4 separate regions of the Homo sapiens genome follow, and regions 1, 2 and 3 are each linked to region 4. Evidence: promoter capture Hi-C in human tissues and cell types (Jung and others, 2019). All regions are on one chromosome and are shown on one strand. Each heading gives the region's core, a stretch centred on a gene start or on the middle of the fragment in contact. The rest is flanking DNA. Distances are from core to core; before and after follow the strand shown.

What was found. The method cuts DNA at HindIII sites, captures the fragments that hold promoters and counts their contacts. A contact is called where the count stands out against the background at its distance.
Region 1: a fragment that was not itself captured here is called in contact with the fragment with the promoter of DNM1L in region 4 in 1 of the 25 tissues and cell types used here (thymus).
Region 2: a contact is called between a fragment that was not itself captured here and the fragment with the promoter of DNM1L in region 4, in 1 of the 25 tissues and cell types used here (spleen).
Region 3: a contact is called between a fragment that was not itself captured here and the fragment with the promoter of DNM1L in region 4, in 1 of the 25 tissues and cell types used here (lymphoblastoid cells).

Annotation. Positions count from the first base shown.
Region 1 is chr12:32,042,840-32,046,542 of GRCh38, forward strand. No RefSeq gene overlaps it. Among named protein-coding and RNA genes, the nearest start is that of BICD1, 62 kb to the right of the region's middle. RefSeq lists a silencer at 1,023-1,223. The HindIII fragment of the contact is 5,154 bases long and covers 1-3,703 here.
Region 2 is chr12:31,971,989-31,975,972 of GRCh38, forward strand. All of the region lies in intron 3 of RESF1 (retroelement silencing factor 1), which reads left to right. Among named protein-coding and RNA genes, the nearest start is that of RESF1, 15 kb to the left of the region's middle. The HindIII fragment of the contact is 3,191 bases long and covers 263-3,453 here.
Region 3 is chr12:32,075,742-32,079,752 of GRCh38, forward strand. No RefSeq gene overlaps it. Among named protein-coding and RNA genes, the nearest start is that of BICD1, 29 kb to the right of the region's middle. RefSeq lists a silencer at 601-801. The HindIII fragment of the contact is 3,631 bases long and covers 1-3,088 here.
Region 4 is chr12:32,677,206-32,680,815 of GRCh38, forward strand. DNM1L (dynamin 1 like) reads left to right here and starts at 2,096. Exons shown (of 20, transcript NM_012062.5): 1 at 2,096-2,260. The coding sequence starts at 2,159. RefSeq lists a silencer at 2,244-2,653. The HindIII fragment of the contact is 15,512 bases long and covers 703-3,610 here.

The sequences.
Region 1 (3,703 bases), core at 623-3,122, 630 kb before region 4:
ATTTTTATTTTTATTTTTTGAGACAGAGTCTCACTCTGTCACCCAGGCTGGAGTGCAGTGGCAACCTCCTCCTCCTGGGTTCAAGCAATTCTCCTGCCTCAGCCTCCTGAGTAACAGGGAATACAGGTGCCCACCACCACGCCTGGCTAATTTTGTATTTTTAGTACAGATGGGGTTTTACCGTGTTGGTCAGGCTGGTCTTGAACTTCTGACCTCAGGTGATCCACCTACCTCAACCTCCCAAAATTCTGGGATTATAGGCGTGAGCCACCACTCCTGGCCAATTTTTTGTATTTTTAGTAAAGATGGGGTTTCACCATGTTGGCCAGGCTGGTCGTGAACTCCTGATCTCAGGTAATCCACCCACCTTGGCCTCCCAAAGTGCTGGGATTACAGGCATGAGCCACTGCACCCAGCCTTAATTTTTGTATTTTTTGTATAGACAGGGTCTCACTATGTTGCTCAGGCTTATTTCAAACACCTGGGTTCAAGTGATCCTCTGGCCTCAGCCTCCCAAAATGCTGGGATTATAGGCGTGAGCCACTGTGCCCAGCCCCTTTTGTTGATCGCGCCACAATTTTCCAAAACGTTCATAGGGACTCTATATTAGCTTTCTAGAGCTGCCATAACAAAGCACCACAAACTGGGTGGGTTAAAAAAACAGAAAATGTATTATCTTACAGTTCTGGAAGTCAGAGGTCCAAAATCAAGGTCTTGGCAGGGCCATGCTCCTTCTGAAGGCTCCAGGGAAGAAATCTGTTCCATGCCTTACTTTTAGCTTCTGGTGTTGCCAGTAAATGCTTGTTGATACAGCACTTTAATCACTGTCTCCATTGCCTCATAGCATTCTTCCTGGGTCTGTCTCCGTGTCTCTTCTCTGCTTCTCATAAGGACAGCAGTCATATTGGATTGAGTCCATACTACTTAATATAGTTTGAATATTTGTCCCCTCCAAATCTCAAATTGAAATGTGACCCCCAGTGTTGGAAGTGGGGCCTAGTAGGAGATGTTTGGGTCATGGGGACAGATCCCTCATGAATGGCTTGATGCCCTCCTTACAGTAATGAATGAGTTCTTGCTCTATTAGTTAATGTGCAATCTGATTGTTAAAATCTCTCGCCATGTGACACACTGGCTCTCCTTGCCTTCCACCATGATTGGAAGCTTCCTGAGGCTTCCCCAGAAACAGACACTGGCACCTTGTTCTGTTAGAAATAAAAGCTCAGAGTCGTAAAGAAAATGAGCACTCAAACACAAGATTTCTCAGCAAGGCAAATTTTCTTCTGCAGAAGGGTGCAGCTTGCGCCAGTCATTATCGCAAGAGCACACCGAGCAGGGTAGGAAAGGGGTTTTTATCTCTAATGCAGTTCCTAGCACTTCTGTGTCCTTTCCCCATTGGCTGGGGTTGGACCTCACAATCTAAGCTAACTCGATTGGCTAAGGTTTAAAATTGAATAGGGTCTATTAGGTGAAGAGTCCGTTACTAGGTGGGAAAAGAGTCTGTTACTAGGCGGGAAGGCATATCTGGACTTGTCTGGGCATGGCAAAGGCAGGAAGGTTGTTTACAGAACAGGTAGCTAGGAGACAAGGAAGTACAAGGAAGTTGGTTTTAAGAAACAAAGAACAGGGAACGAAAGCTTTTTGAAGAGGAATTTATCATCTCTGACACTTCTTGTACAGTCTGCAGAACTGTGAGGCAATTAAACTTCTTTTCTTTGTAAATTACCCAGCCTTAGCTATTCCTTTATACAATGCAAAATGGACCAAATATAGTACTCAAGTATAACCTCATTCTAACTTAAATCTTAATTACATCTGCAAAGACTATTTCCAAGTAAGGTCACATTCACAGGTACCAGGGGTTAGGACTTCAACACATCCTTTGGGGCAGATACAATGTTGAGGATTGCCTCAACAGACTCTGAAGAAATAGCAATAATATTTGGAATAAAAGGCCTTTCTTGCATTTCATTTTTTGAAAAATATTGTATCATGTTTAGGATGTAAAAATTTTGTGACTTTTCTATAGAATTGTTAGCCAGAAATGTTATATTGAGAGATACATATGTTCTATGAAGTTTGAGTTTTAAAAATGAAGAGAAGGCTGGGCATGCCTGTAATCCTAGCATTTTAGGAAGCCAAGGCAGACAGTTTGCTTGAGCCCAGGAGTTCAAGACCAGCCTGGGCAACATAGCAAAATCCTATCTCTACAAAAAATAAACATTTAGCTGGGGCCGGGCACAGTGGCTCATGCCTGTAATCCCAGCACTTTGGGAGGCCAATGCAGGCAGATCACCTGAGGTCAGGAGTTTGAGACCAGCCTGGCCAACATGGCAAAACCCTGTCTCTACTAAAAATATAAAAATTAACTGTGTATGGTGGCGTGCACCTGTAATCCCAGCTACTTGGGAAGCTGAGGTAGGAGAATCATTTGAGCCCGGGAGGCAGAGGCTGCAATGAGCCGAGATTGGGTCACTGCATTCCAGCCTGGGAGACAGAGTGAGACTCAGTCTCAATAATAATAATAATAATAATAATAATAATAATAATAATAATAAAACTAGCTGGGTGTGGTGGCCTTTGCCTGTAGTCTCAGCTACTCAGGAGACTGAGGTGGGAGGATCATTTGAGCTTGGGAGGATGAGGCTGCAGTGAGCCATGATTGAGCCACTGCACTCTGCACTCCAGCCTGGGCAATAGAGCAAGACTGTCTTAAAAAAAAAAAAAAAGAGGTATTTCTCTTTTAGGGGAGAAGGTTTACCTGGGAGGCATTATGCAGGGTGAGCAGTAATCTATCTGGAGGACACACTTGGGTTTGGTGAAGGTGACACTTCTTCAAAGAGAAATCGAGGGTTGTGTCAAAGACAAAACCCAGAGAAGTAGGCAGATTGATTAAAGAACACTTGAGAGGCAAAGATCAGAGGATCTCAGCAGGGTGCTTTTGCCCTAGACTTATATAGAGAGGAGTAAACAAGCTGAAGTGGGGTGATATGCAGTTGGGGTTGTTTTGTATGCAGAACTGTCTGTCACTTAGCTGAACCAGAAATATTATTCTCAGGGAAACAAATTGTTCTAATCTTAGCTAGTCAACTACAGCAAAGAATGGGAAATTGGAGGATTTGTGTTTGGCCTTGTTGCAGATGAACAAGGGAGCCAACCCTGAGAACCGTGGGGTCACAAGAGAGTGGACGGTGAGTTGTACCTATGTCCTATGCAGAAGGATGGTTCTCTGAGCAAGTCTTCTCCAAGAACACAAAAGAATGGGGGATTTTGAAAAACAAAAGGTGGTGGAGGATGGGGGTTGCATGGGGTTCAGGTTGGGGGTGGGGGTACTGGGGGTGCAGGGTGCTTTATCATCGCTGCTTTCTTTTCTTTTTAAATAAATACATTTTCTTTCTGTCTTCTTTATTTTATTTTATTTTATTTTATTTTTTTGAGACAGGGTCTCACTCTGTCGCCCAGGCTGGAGTGCAGTGGCACAATCTCAGCTCACTGCAAGCTCCACCTCCTGGGTTCACACCATTCTCTTGCCTCAGCCTCCCCAGCAGCTGGGACCACAGGTGCCCGCCACCATGCCTGGCTAATTTCTTTTGTATTTTTAGTAGAGACGGGGTTTCACTGTGTTAGCCAGGATGGTCTCGATCTCCTGACCTCGTGATCTGCCCACCTCAGCCTCCCAAAGTGCTGAGATTACAGGCGTGAG
Region 2 (3,984 bases), core at 608-3,107, 710 kb before region 4:
CAATGAAGCCTCCATAAAACCGGAAAGGATAGAGTTTAGAAGGCTTTTCAGGTTGCTGAGCAGGTGGAGGTTCCTAGAGGGTGGCGTACCCAGGGAGGGCATGGAAATGCTGTGCCCCTTCTCATGTGACCTTGCCTTCTACATCTCTTGAACTGAATCCTTGGTAATATACTTTATAATAAACTGATAAGGTGTTTCCCTGAGTTCTGTGAGCTGCTCTAACACGACAAACCAAAGGAGCGGGACATGGGAATCCCAGTTTACAGCTGGTCGGTCGGAAGCACAGGTAAAATAACCTGGGACTTGGTGTTGGCATCAGAAGTGGGGGGCAGTCTCGGCTGGGCGCAGTGGCTCACGCCTGTAATCCCAGCACTTTGGGAGGCCGAGGTGGGTGGATCACGAGGTCAGGAGATCGAGACCATCCTGGCTAACATGGTGAAACCCTGTCTCTACTAAAAATACAAAAAATTAGCCAGGCGTGGTGGTGGGCACCGGTAGTTCCAGCTACTCAGGAGGCTGAGGCAGGAGAATGGCGTGAACCTGGGAGGCGGAGCTCGCAGTGAGCCAAGATGGTGCCACTGCACTCCAGCCTGGGTGACAGAGTGAGACTCCGTCTCAAAAAAAAAAAAAAAAAAAAGTGGGGGCAGTCTTGCAGGACTGAGCCCTAAACTGATGAGATCTGACACTATCTTCATATAGATAGTCTTGGAATTAAAATGAATTAGAGGACACCCACCTGGTGTGTACACTGCAGAACTGATTGCTTGTTATGTGGGGTGAGACACCCACACATCTGGTGTCAGAAGTGTGAGAAAGTTTATTCCTACATTCTCAGAATTGTTTATATAAAAATGTTATTTTTTATATAATTACATTTACCTCTAATGTTTTACTTTTTGTTTTTATGTCTCGTCTTTTTATTCCTTTCTTATTCCTTAGTGGGGTTTATTTTGCATAAATGAGTATTTTCTAATGTAGCATTTTAATTTCTCTTTGTTTTTTCTGTTTTTAATTTCTTTAACGATATTTTCACTGTATTTTTTGTAACTTCATGGAAGCACAAATTCTTTTTAAAAGTATTTTTTATATTAAACTATCAGTGATGGAGGCTGGCAGAGATCTTGGGGCGAGAATTTATTCTCTCAGAGAAATGGTAGTGATGGACCATGGAAACTTGTCTATGGTAATCTGTGTTAGAATATATTCTTGAAAGTTCTAAGAATACATTATATCCACAAGTAGATTATGCCATCCTAGAGACTGCAGCTGACCCTTGAACAATGTGAGTTTGACCCATGTGGATCCACATACACATGGATTTGACTTTTTTTTTTTTAAGAGATGAGGTCACTCTCTGTTGCCCAGGCTGGAGTGCAGTGTACAGTCATAGCACATTACAGCCTCAAACATCTGGGCTCAAACAGTCCTCCCATCTCTGCCTCCTGAGTATCTGGGACTGCATCCACACACTACCTTGTCTGGCTACACTTGGAGTTTCTTCTGCATCTGCCACTCTACTGCCACCCTAAGTCGTAATCCCTATGTTGTTCAAGGGTCGATTGTATTTTCCTTTCACAGTCTATTTGTGTAGCTAGTAGGCAATCTTCCAAAAACTTCAATTTAGGTCGTTCCGGAGTGCTTTTCGAGTTTTCAGTTTTCTTCTATGCCAGTGAAGGAGAGGGATGGAGGAAAAAAAAAAAACCAAATTAACATAAAGATAGTTTCCCTTCCTACCCATATGCTCTGTATTAATTGCTAGGGCTGTGTTTGAGATAGGAAAACCAAAACTTCTTCACACAACTGACCACTTCATCTCTGGTCACCAGAATGTATTTGGATTTCTTCCCATCCGCAAACTGTTTTCCAGCTGACAACAACTGGGTGTCCTACAATTCAATTACATGTTGGCATCATCTACCTGGAGAAAGCTTCAGATCCCACAGGTTGAGGACTCAGTCCCACAAGACTGCCCCTGACTTCGCCAGACCTGTACTTTTGACCAACCTGTTACAAAGAGGGGATTGTCAAGACTCCCTCCGTGGATTTGATTAATTTGCTAGAGCTCACAGAACTCAGGGAAATAGTTTACTTATTATAAAGCCTATTAGATGAAGAGCCAGGTGGAAGAGATGCATGGGGGAATGCATATGTGAGCGCTTCCATGCCCTCTCCAGGTGCTGCCCCACCCTACGGTCACCTCTATGTTACCAGACACTCCTGTTACTCAGGAGATTACAAAGGTCTCAGGAGCTCTGTGTCAGGAACCGGGTTCAAAGACCACGTATTAGTGCAAAAGATTGTATACCCCAATCTACAAGAGTTTTAGGTGCCCCGTGTCTGGAATCATGGGCAGAGACCAAGTATGTATTTCTTATCGTGGGCTACTATGACAGTAATGCCACAGACTGGGTGGAGAAATTTATTTCTCCCAGTTCCGGCGGCTAGAAGTCCAGGGTCAATATGTTTGATTTCTGTTCTCTTGAAGCTTCTCTCTCAGTGGCTTGCAGGTGACTGTCTTCTTGCTGTGTCCTAACGTGGTCCTTCCTCTGTGGGCCGACATCGCTGGTGTCCCTCTTCCTATGGGGGATACTAGTCGGATTAGAGCCCCACTCTAATGACCTCACTTAACCAATTATCTCCTTAAAGGCCCTATCTCCAAATACACTGAGGGTCAGGGCTTTCACTTATGAATTTTGGGGAGGGTACAATTCAGTTCATGAGACTCTCTCCTCCAAGTTGACGTAAAAGCCAGGGGACAGTGAGGGGGACGGGCAGTTATGAAGCATCATTAATTCTCCTTAGAAGTGCTGCTTTTCTTCTGTCAGTGAACACTGTGACCCATTCTGCTTCCAACCTTGTGGACTAGTCAAAGTAGTGAGAGGAACAGAGTCCTAACGCCTGAGAGTTGTAAAATGAGTGTCAGCATGTGGTGGCTGCCTTTTTTTTTTTTTTTTAACGGATAGACTTTATTTTCTAGAAGAGTTTTAGGTTTAAAGAAAATTGAGGTCAGGCATGGTGGTTCACGCCTGTAATCCCAGCACTTTGGGAGGCCAAGGCAGGCAGATCATGAGGTCAGGAGTTTGAGACCATCTTGGCCAACATGGTGAAACCCCATCTCTAGCAAAAATATAAAAAATGAGTCAGGCATGGTGGCGCGCGCCTGTAGTCCCAGCTACTCGGGAGGCTGAGGCAGGAGAATTGCTTGAACCCGGGAGGTGGAGGTTGCAGATCGTGCCACTGCACTCCAGCCTGGGCGACAGAGCGAGACTCCATCTGAAAAAAAAAGAAAAAGAAAACTGAGCTTATAGTACAGAGCATTCCCATATAAGAGCTTTATAGGAACCTCCCATCTCCAAAACTCTAAGGTTCCACTATTAGCAACTTGGATTAGTCATACTGATATGTTATTATTAAAGTCCATCACTAACATTAGAGTTTACTCTGTATCCAATGGGTCTTACGGGTTTTGATAAATGCTTAATAGTATGCATCTACTATTATAAGAGAGCTTTAAAAAATAACTTTATGAAATCAAAACATACCTAAGAAAGGGTACAAATGGTAAGTGTATAATGCAGTGGATTATGTAGGGAACACACTTGTGTGTAAGTATCACCCTGGTCAAAAGCAGTCTTCATGCTACTTAACTACCAATTGCTATTCCATCACACTTTGTAAAAAGTACCACTACAGTCCCTAGATGGTTGGTTTTGTCTGTGTTTCAATCTTTATATAAATGGAATCATGGATTATTCTTTAATCTCTGGCCTTTTTCACTCAGTCTTGTGTTTGTTAGATTCATGTTGCATATAGCCTTTTATTTTTGTTACTATAGTGTTTCATTAATATGAATACATTTCTATTTTGTTTGTTTCCAGTTTTTGCTTACTGCACCTAATGCTGCTGGCAGTGTTATAATTATGCATTTCTGTTTGGTACATACCTAGGAATGAAACTTCTAGGTCTCAGGGCTTGCATTTATTA
Region 3 (4,011 bases), core at 23-2,522, 600 kb before region 4:
TGAAGGAATTAATATTCCCTCTTTCAACAGCTGAGTGTCATAGCTTGGGTCTAGCCCTGCACAGTCAAGGAAAAATAAATCTGACTGGATTAGGACCTCCAACATCTGGGAAGGATCTGGAGCTGGTCTGCTGAAATGAGCTTAGGGAAAAGTTCGAGGTACTTTCCCTCTTCTCACTTCCTCACTCCGCAATTTATGTGTCCAGTTTGATTGAATGGGATTCTTCTTAGGTGCCTACTAGGATGTGAGTCTCACCATTAACCTAGCCCATTTGGTGATGAACCAGATTTTCTGCATAGCTCCTTTTAGCCTTCTCTTTTCTTCCCAGTGGAGTTGGCCTCAGTGCCCGGAAGCCACAGCTTTGTCCTGTGTCCTGGCTATCCCTGAATCCACAATGGTACCATAATTTTGACAGCAAGTTTCACCAGTACCCATAGACTCCTATGCTGAGGTTCCTGTCTATCAGAATGGATTCCTTAGCTTTGGACTTTTAAATTTTAAGATACTGTCTTCACTTTGGGCATTGCGTCTATTACCAATATGTTTTCTTAGTCCCAGCTTGTCTGTTCTAGGCTTACTTCCGCCTCCCTGCTAGCTCACTGTTTAATTCCCAGCAGATCTGGAGGCTGGGGCTACGTATGGTTTTGAGAAAGGCTCCTCTGCTTGGCACTTCACAAGGACTTCCAGTAATGAGTGGCGAAAAGATAGCGTGACTCTGTTGCTTCAATTTACTCTTATCTGTCCACCTTTTTGGAGTGGGAGTCTGTCATGACTTTCCCTTTCTAAACCACAAAGCTAACATAATATTTCACTTTATTTATTTATTTTTAATTAAAAAAAAATTTTTTTTTTGAGACGGAATCTCGCTCTGCTGCCCATACTGGAGTGCAGTGGCGCAATCTTGGCTCACTGCAGCTTCAACCTCCTGGGCTCAAGCCATCTGCCCACCTCATCCTCCCAAGTAGCTGGGACCACAGGCACACGCCACCACACCTGACTAATTTTTGTATTTTTTGTAGAGATGGGGTTTTGCCATGTTGCCCAGCCTGGTCTCGAACTCCTGAGCTCAAGCAATCTGCTAGCCTTGGCCTCCCAAAGCGTTGAGATTACAGGCATGAGCCACTGTGCCTGGCCTAACATGGCATTTTAAAAAATCATAGTGTTCCTGTGATCTTATTCCCTTGACTAATAATTTATTTAGAGTGGATACATGATCCAGTCTGGCAAATGAGATGGAAGTGGAGCTGACTTGAGAGGGATTCCTTTCCCGAAAAACACACAAAAGCACCAGAGAAAAAAGCTTTCCCCCTCCCCTTTTTCACCAGCTTGAACGGGGGGCATTCCTGGAGCAGCAGGAGCGGCCTCTTCGAAATCTTGAGATGGCACACATGAGGACAAATGCCAATATGCCAAGCACAGCAGGGTGGGAAGAAATCTGAATCCCTGATGGCATCATTTTGCAGTTGAACTGATGCCAGCAACAATCCACCTCTGAATTTATGCTGTGGGAAAAATTACCTATTATTTGTTTAAGCCTGAAGTTGTGTTTTCTTTTATTTGCAAAAGCATGCATTTCTTTTTCTTTTCTTTTTTTTTTTTTTGAGACGGAGACTCACTCTATCCCAGGCTGGAGTGCAATGGCGCGATCTCGGCTCACTGCAACCTCTGCCTCTTGGGTTCAAGCGATTCACCTCCCTCAGCCTCCCGAGTAGAAAAGCATGCCTTTCTAACTTGTAGTTAATTTTCTTCTTTTAACACATCAGTCTGGTCTTATTTCTAGGCTTTATCTCATACGACATTTACTGTGTCCTCACATGCACATACTCCTGGCCCCAACCTCTCTCAGAATTTTATTTTTCCTAGTGTCCTAGCTTTGAGCTGTCTACTTGTTCTTGCCCACCACTGGATGTTCAGCTGCACTTTTCTCTAAAAGGTTTGGTACTCCACTCCAAAAAAAATTATATTTTTAAAATATAGGAAACGATGATATATGGAGGACCTACTATGTGCCAGGCACCACACCACATATGTTACAGACATTACCTCATTCGATCTTCACAATCAGCCCAATGTGGTAGGTATTAGCCTCCTCCTCCACCATCCTTTTATAGCAGAGGAAACATAAGCACAGTAATGTTAGAGAGCTTGCGTAAGGCCTCTCAGCCAGCAATTAGTAGAGCCAGTTTTCATATCCAGGTCTATTGAATTCCCCAAAATGCTCTTGCAATTCAGGGAGCAGGCTTGTATTTGTCAGGTTCTTAATTCCAAGCAAAGTAATGCAATCTAGCCAATTTAAGCAGAAAGGGATTTGTCTTAGTCCATTCTGTGCTGCTATAACAGAATACCACAGACTGGGTAACTTATGAGGAACAGAAATCTATTCTCTCACAGTTCTGGAGCCTAGGACATTCAAGATAAAGGCACCAATGGTTGAGTCTCTGGTTCCATGATGATGCCTTGTTGCTGCATCCTCCAGAGAAGAGGAACGCTGAGTCCTCATGTGGCAGAAGTGCAGGAGAGAGAGAACACACTCCTGCAAGCTTGTTTTATGGCAAAGTTAATCCATTCACCAGGGCAGAGCCCTCATGATTTAACCACCTCTCATTAGGCCCCGCCTCCCAACACTGTTGCATTGGGGATTAAGTTTCAACATGAATTTTGGAGGGGACACAAACATTCAAACCATAGCATTCCGCCCCCCATCCTCCCAAAATATCCTTCTCACATGCAAAATGCATTCATTCCATGCCAGTAGCCCCAAATGTCCTAACTTGTTTCATCATCTACTCAAAAGTCCAGAGTCTCTTGTTACACGGATATGGTTGAGACTCAAGGCATGATTTAACCTGAGGCAAATTCCCCTCTAGCTCATACCTGTGAAATTAAACAAGTCACATGTTTCCAAAATACAATGGAGACAGGCATGGGATAGACACACTTCTTCCAAAAGTGAGAAATAGGAAAGAAGAAAGGGATAACAAGTCCCAAGTAAAAGCCCAAAACCCAACGGGACCAACAACATTAGATTTTAAGGCCTGAGAGCCATCTTCTTTGACTCCATGACAGACCATCTGGACACAATGGGTGAGGGTTGGACTCTCAAAGCTCCTGGTGGCCCTACCCCCATGGCTTTGCTGGGTGCAGCTGTCATGGGTTGGAGTCTTGTGTCTGTGGCTCTCCCAGGCTAGTGTTGCATGCTAATGGCTCTACAGTTCTGATGTCTTAGGAGTGGCCCTGACCCACGACTTTACTAAGCAATGCCCTATTTGGGTATCTTTGCAGTGACCCCCAATCCCACAGTTCCACTGGGCAAGGGGATTTAGAAAACAGAGTTCCGAGTTTTCCGGTATCCAGAGTGCAGGATGGAAAGGGAGATGGGGCCAATAGCGGGATCCGCCAAGGCCTCCTTGAGGAAGGCTCTTTCTTTACAGAAGAGCTGCGCATTCAGTTACTACTGTAAGGCAGAGAGTTTAGATTGCAATTCAGCAGCATCTCCAAAAAACTCGTAGTGCTAGAATGGCTTTGAGGTGGAATTTTGGAAATGAGAACCATGATGAATGAATGATGGAAATGGTGACTCCTTGCCATAGTTAAGCTGTTGTCCTTAACATTTCTTTTAGGTAGCACAGTATACAAGCTTACATTAAAATATTCACGGCCAGGTGCGGTGGCTCACACCTGTAATCCCAGCACTTTGGGAGGCCGAGGCAGGCGGATCACAAGGTCAGGAGTTCGAGACCAGCCTGGCCAACATGGTGAAACCCCCTCTCTACTAAAAATACAAAAATTAGCAGGGAGTGGTGGCAGGCACCTGTAATCCTAGTTACTCGGGAGGCTGAGGCAGGAGAATTGCTTGAATCTGGGAGGCAGAGGTTGCAGTGAGCCGAGATTGCGCCACTGGACTCCAGCCTGGGTGACAGAGTGAGACTCCATCTCAAAAAAAAAAAAAATCACAAACATTAAAAACATAAGATGGTGATCTATTTCAAGTACTTTGTTAATTTTTTTTTT
Region 4 (3,610 bases), core at 846-3,345:
CTCTGTCACTTAGGCTGGAGTGCGGTGGCACGATCACAGTTCACTGCAGTCCCCACCTCCCAAGCTTAGGTGATCCTCCTACTGCAGCCTCCCAAGTAGTTGGGGCCACAGGTATGCACCACCACGACAGGCAAGCTAATTTTTTTGTATTTTTTGTAGAGACTGGGTTTTGCCGTGTTGCCCAGGCTGGCCTTGAACTCCTGACCTCAAGTGATCTGCCCGTCTCCTGCCTCAGCCTCCTGAGTAGCTGGGATTACAGGAATGCACCACCACGCCCGGTTAATTTTTGTATTTTTAGTAGAGACGGGGTTTCTCCATGTTGGTCAGGCTGGTCTTGAACTCCTGACCTCAAGTGATCCGCCTGCCTTGGCCTCCCAAAGTGCTGGAATTACAGGCGTGAGCCACGGTGCCTGGCCTCTCCTCACCTGCTTTAATTCTTTACTCAAATGTCACCTTTTTACTTTGAGGTTTACTTTTACCTTTGGAGGTTTGGAGTAGAGGAGGGATACTATCTGTCTAAAAAGAAAAACAACATTTAGAAATATAACAGTATGGGCCGGGCATGGTGGCTCAGGCCTGTAATCCCAGGACTGTGGGAGGCCAAGATGGGCGGATCACTTGAGGTCAGGAGTTCGAGACCAGCCTGGCTAACATGGTGAAACCCCGCCCCCCACCCGTCTCTACTAAAAATACAAAAATTTTCCCAGGGTGGTGGCGGGTGCCTGTAATAACAGCTACTTGGGGGGCTGAGGCAGGAGAATCACTTCAGCCTGGGAGGAGGAGGCTGCAGTGAGCCGAGATTGCGCCACTGCATTCCAGCCTGGGCGACAGAGTCAGACTCTGTCTCAAAAAAAAAAAAGAACGGTATGAGCAAAGAGTGAGTAAGGCAGTTATCAGATGTCTACTTTGCCAGGAATCAGGCTACAGCAAATAAAGGTTTATACATAATATTGATAATAAATGCCCAGCTCTTCCCCTGTAAAACTCCAATACTCTAAGATTTTTTTCATGAACACCGCCCCCCGCTGCTCCGACCCCTGCTTTTTTATTTATTTATTTATTTATTTGGTAGAGATGAGGTCTCACTATGTTGACCAGGCTGGTCTCGAACTCCCAGCTCAAGCGATCCTCCTGCTTCTGCTTCCTAAAGTGCTGGGATTACACCGCGCTCGGTCCTGAACACACATTTTGTTTGTTTGTTTGTTTGTTTACAAAACCCCTGGAGAACCCGCGTATTCTAACCTGGGCTGGTTTTTGTATTTTTGCAAAATAACACCCCACACATTCTCGTATCAGCGTGCAGATTTTTTTGCACCCAGTTTGGTTGTTTGCGGCCATAAGCTTTTCTTTAAGCCTTTCCAACCCGTCCTTCTAGAGAAAGTGTCTTCATAAGGAAGTCACACTGCTCACGCCTGTAATCCCAACACTTTGGGAGGCCGAGGCGGGTGGATCACTAGGTCCGGAGATCGAGACCATCCTGGAAAACACAGTGAAACCCCGTCTCTACTAAAAATACAAAAAATTAGCCGGGCGTAGTGGTGGGTGCCTGTAGTCCCAGCTACTCCGAAGGCTGAGGCAGGAGAATGGCGTGAACCCGGGAGGCGGAATTTGCAGTGGGCCGAGATCGCGCCACTGCACTCCAGCCTGGGCGACAGAGTGAGACTCCGTCTCAAAAAAAAAAAAAAAATAAATAAATAAAAAATAAATAAAAGGAAGTGACACTGGATAATTAAGAGACACACCATTGCGCCTTTAACACATATTCACACCCAGCACTGTCACATCCATCGTGCCTTGAGGACAGGCATAAATTTACGGCCTTCCTCCTGCGCTCCCGGCCTGCTCCTAGCCTTTGACTAGAGCCTGCGCAGCATCCCAGTCCCAGGCTAGGGCCCACCGGTGCCGCGCAGCCTCCTGGAAGCTGTGGGGAGTAGCGTTCCTCCGCTCCAGAACTACAACTCCCAGCAGGCCTTGCTCCTCTCCACCTCCCTCGCAGCGCATGGCCTGCCGGGAGGGGGCAGGTAGCCGGCGGGCCCGGTCCAATGGGTGCCGGCTTCCGAGGAGAGGGCGGAGGAGAGGAGGAAGGAGGCGAACTGTGGGCCCCGGCCCCATTCATTGCCGTGGCCGGCGGGCACTGGGGCCCCGTGTTTTCAGAGTCATGGAGGCGCTAATTCCTGTCATAAACAAGCTCCAGGACGTCTTCAACACGGTGGGCGCCGACATCATCCAGCTGCCTCAAATCGTCGTAGTGGGAACGCAGGTGAGAGCAGCAGGCGGCGTTCGCTCGGGCCAGACCCCGGCCGCAGGCCTGGTCGGTGCTGCGGCAGTGCCCACTCCCGCGCCAGCGCCCACTCCCGCGCCAGCCTTTGGGGCCTGTGGGAGGAGGGCCTTGCTGGGGGCCCCAGGGCTCTCCGGGCTCTGCCGCACCCGCCCTCCCGGGGCAGCGTTGCATCAAGGCGGAGAATCCGGGGCCCGGCCAGGGGCGGAGCCGGCGCGGCGGGCCTGGCTAGCCCGGCGGGTCCCGGGGACAGGAGAGGGAAGGATGGGGCCGGCGGGCGGAACTGGAGTCCGCTGGGACCGGGCGCGGCCTCGTCCGCGTGCCGCTGCCTCCAAGGGCACCTGGGGGACGCGCGGGGCACTCGGGTCTCGCTGGGCTCGGTGGGCTGGCTGTTCCCATCACTGTTGGCTTTCGTGAGACGGGTGTTTTATTTCCCTCCTTGCCTTGCCCAGGGACTGCGGAGTTAGTTTTGGAATCGCTCTGTTGAGGCTGAGAGACGCTACGGTGCGTGAGCGCCAGTGTTTTCCTGCAGTATAATTCCACCAGGTTTCGAGAACGCCGAAGCAGCATTTTAAAAAAAGAAAAACAAAACGTGTATCTAGAGTTCTGCGGGTGTTGGGAAGGAATATCCGATTTTTCTGCGTAGGCTGTGCTTTTTGTCTTCCACAGTTTTGTGATCGTGACCTAAATTGGGCATCAGTTTCTCTGGTCTTCTCATAGCTAACTCATTTTTTTTTGAATGCAGAAATGTTGGCAAAATAACTGTTATTTCTAGAGTGACAGAGGAGAAGTATAATTTTCCTTTTCTCTGCTACTTCGATTAGAGTTCAGAGAAACGGATTTTAGAAATTAGTATATTGATATTAAGTGCTTTCATTTCTTAATAGTATCTTTTCTATTGAGAAGGAGCGGTTTCCCCATCATTTTCCAGGAGGTACATAGTATAGGGTATAAGTGCTATCAGAAGGAACTTACTGTTCAAAGTATTAGTGGCTATCCAAACACTGGAAACTATAGACACCCTGTACTCGTTTGTTTGTTTGTTTGTTTTTTTGGCTTTTAAATAGTTGAAGCAATAGAAATTGTTTTAGAAACACATTTCCTTGGTCTGCGATAGGATTGGGAAAGATTCTGCTCAATCTTGCCTACGTATTCTAGTATTTGTAACAATATTTGTAATGTTTGGAGACTCAGAAGCATCAAACAAATTACGAGGATTATTTTTTATTGAACATAATTTTGTTCAGTCTGGGACATATAGTAAGTGCTCTGTAAATATTTTGAGTAAATATTGCTCACTCTAACCACAATGTTTTAAAACACTGGGACTTT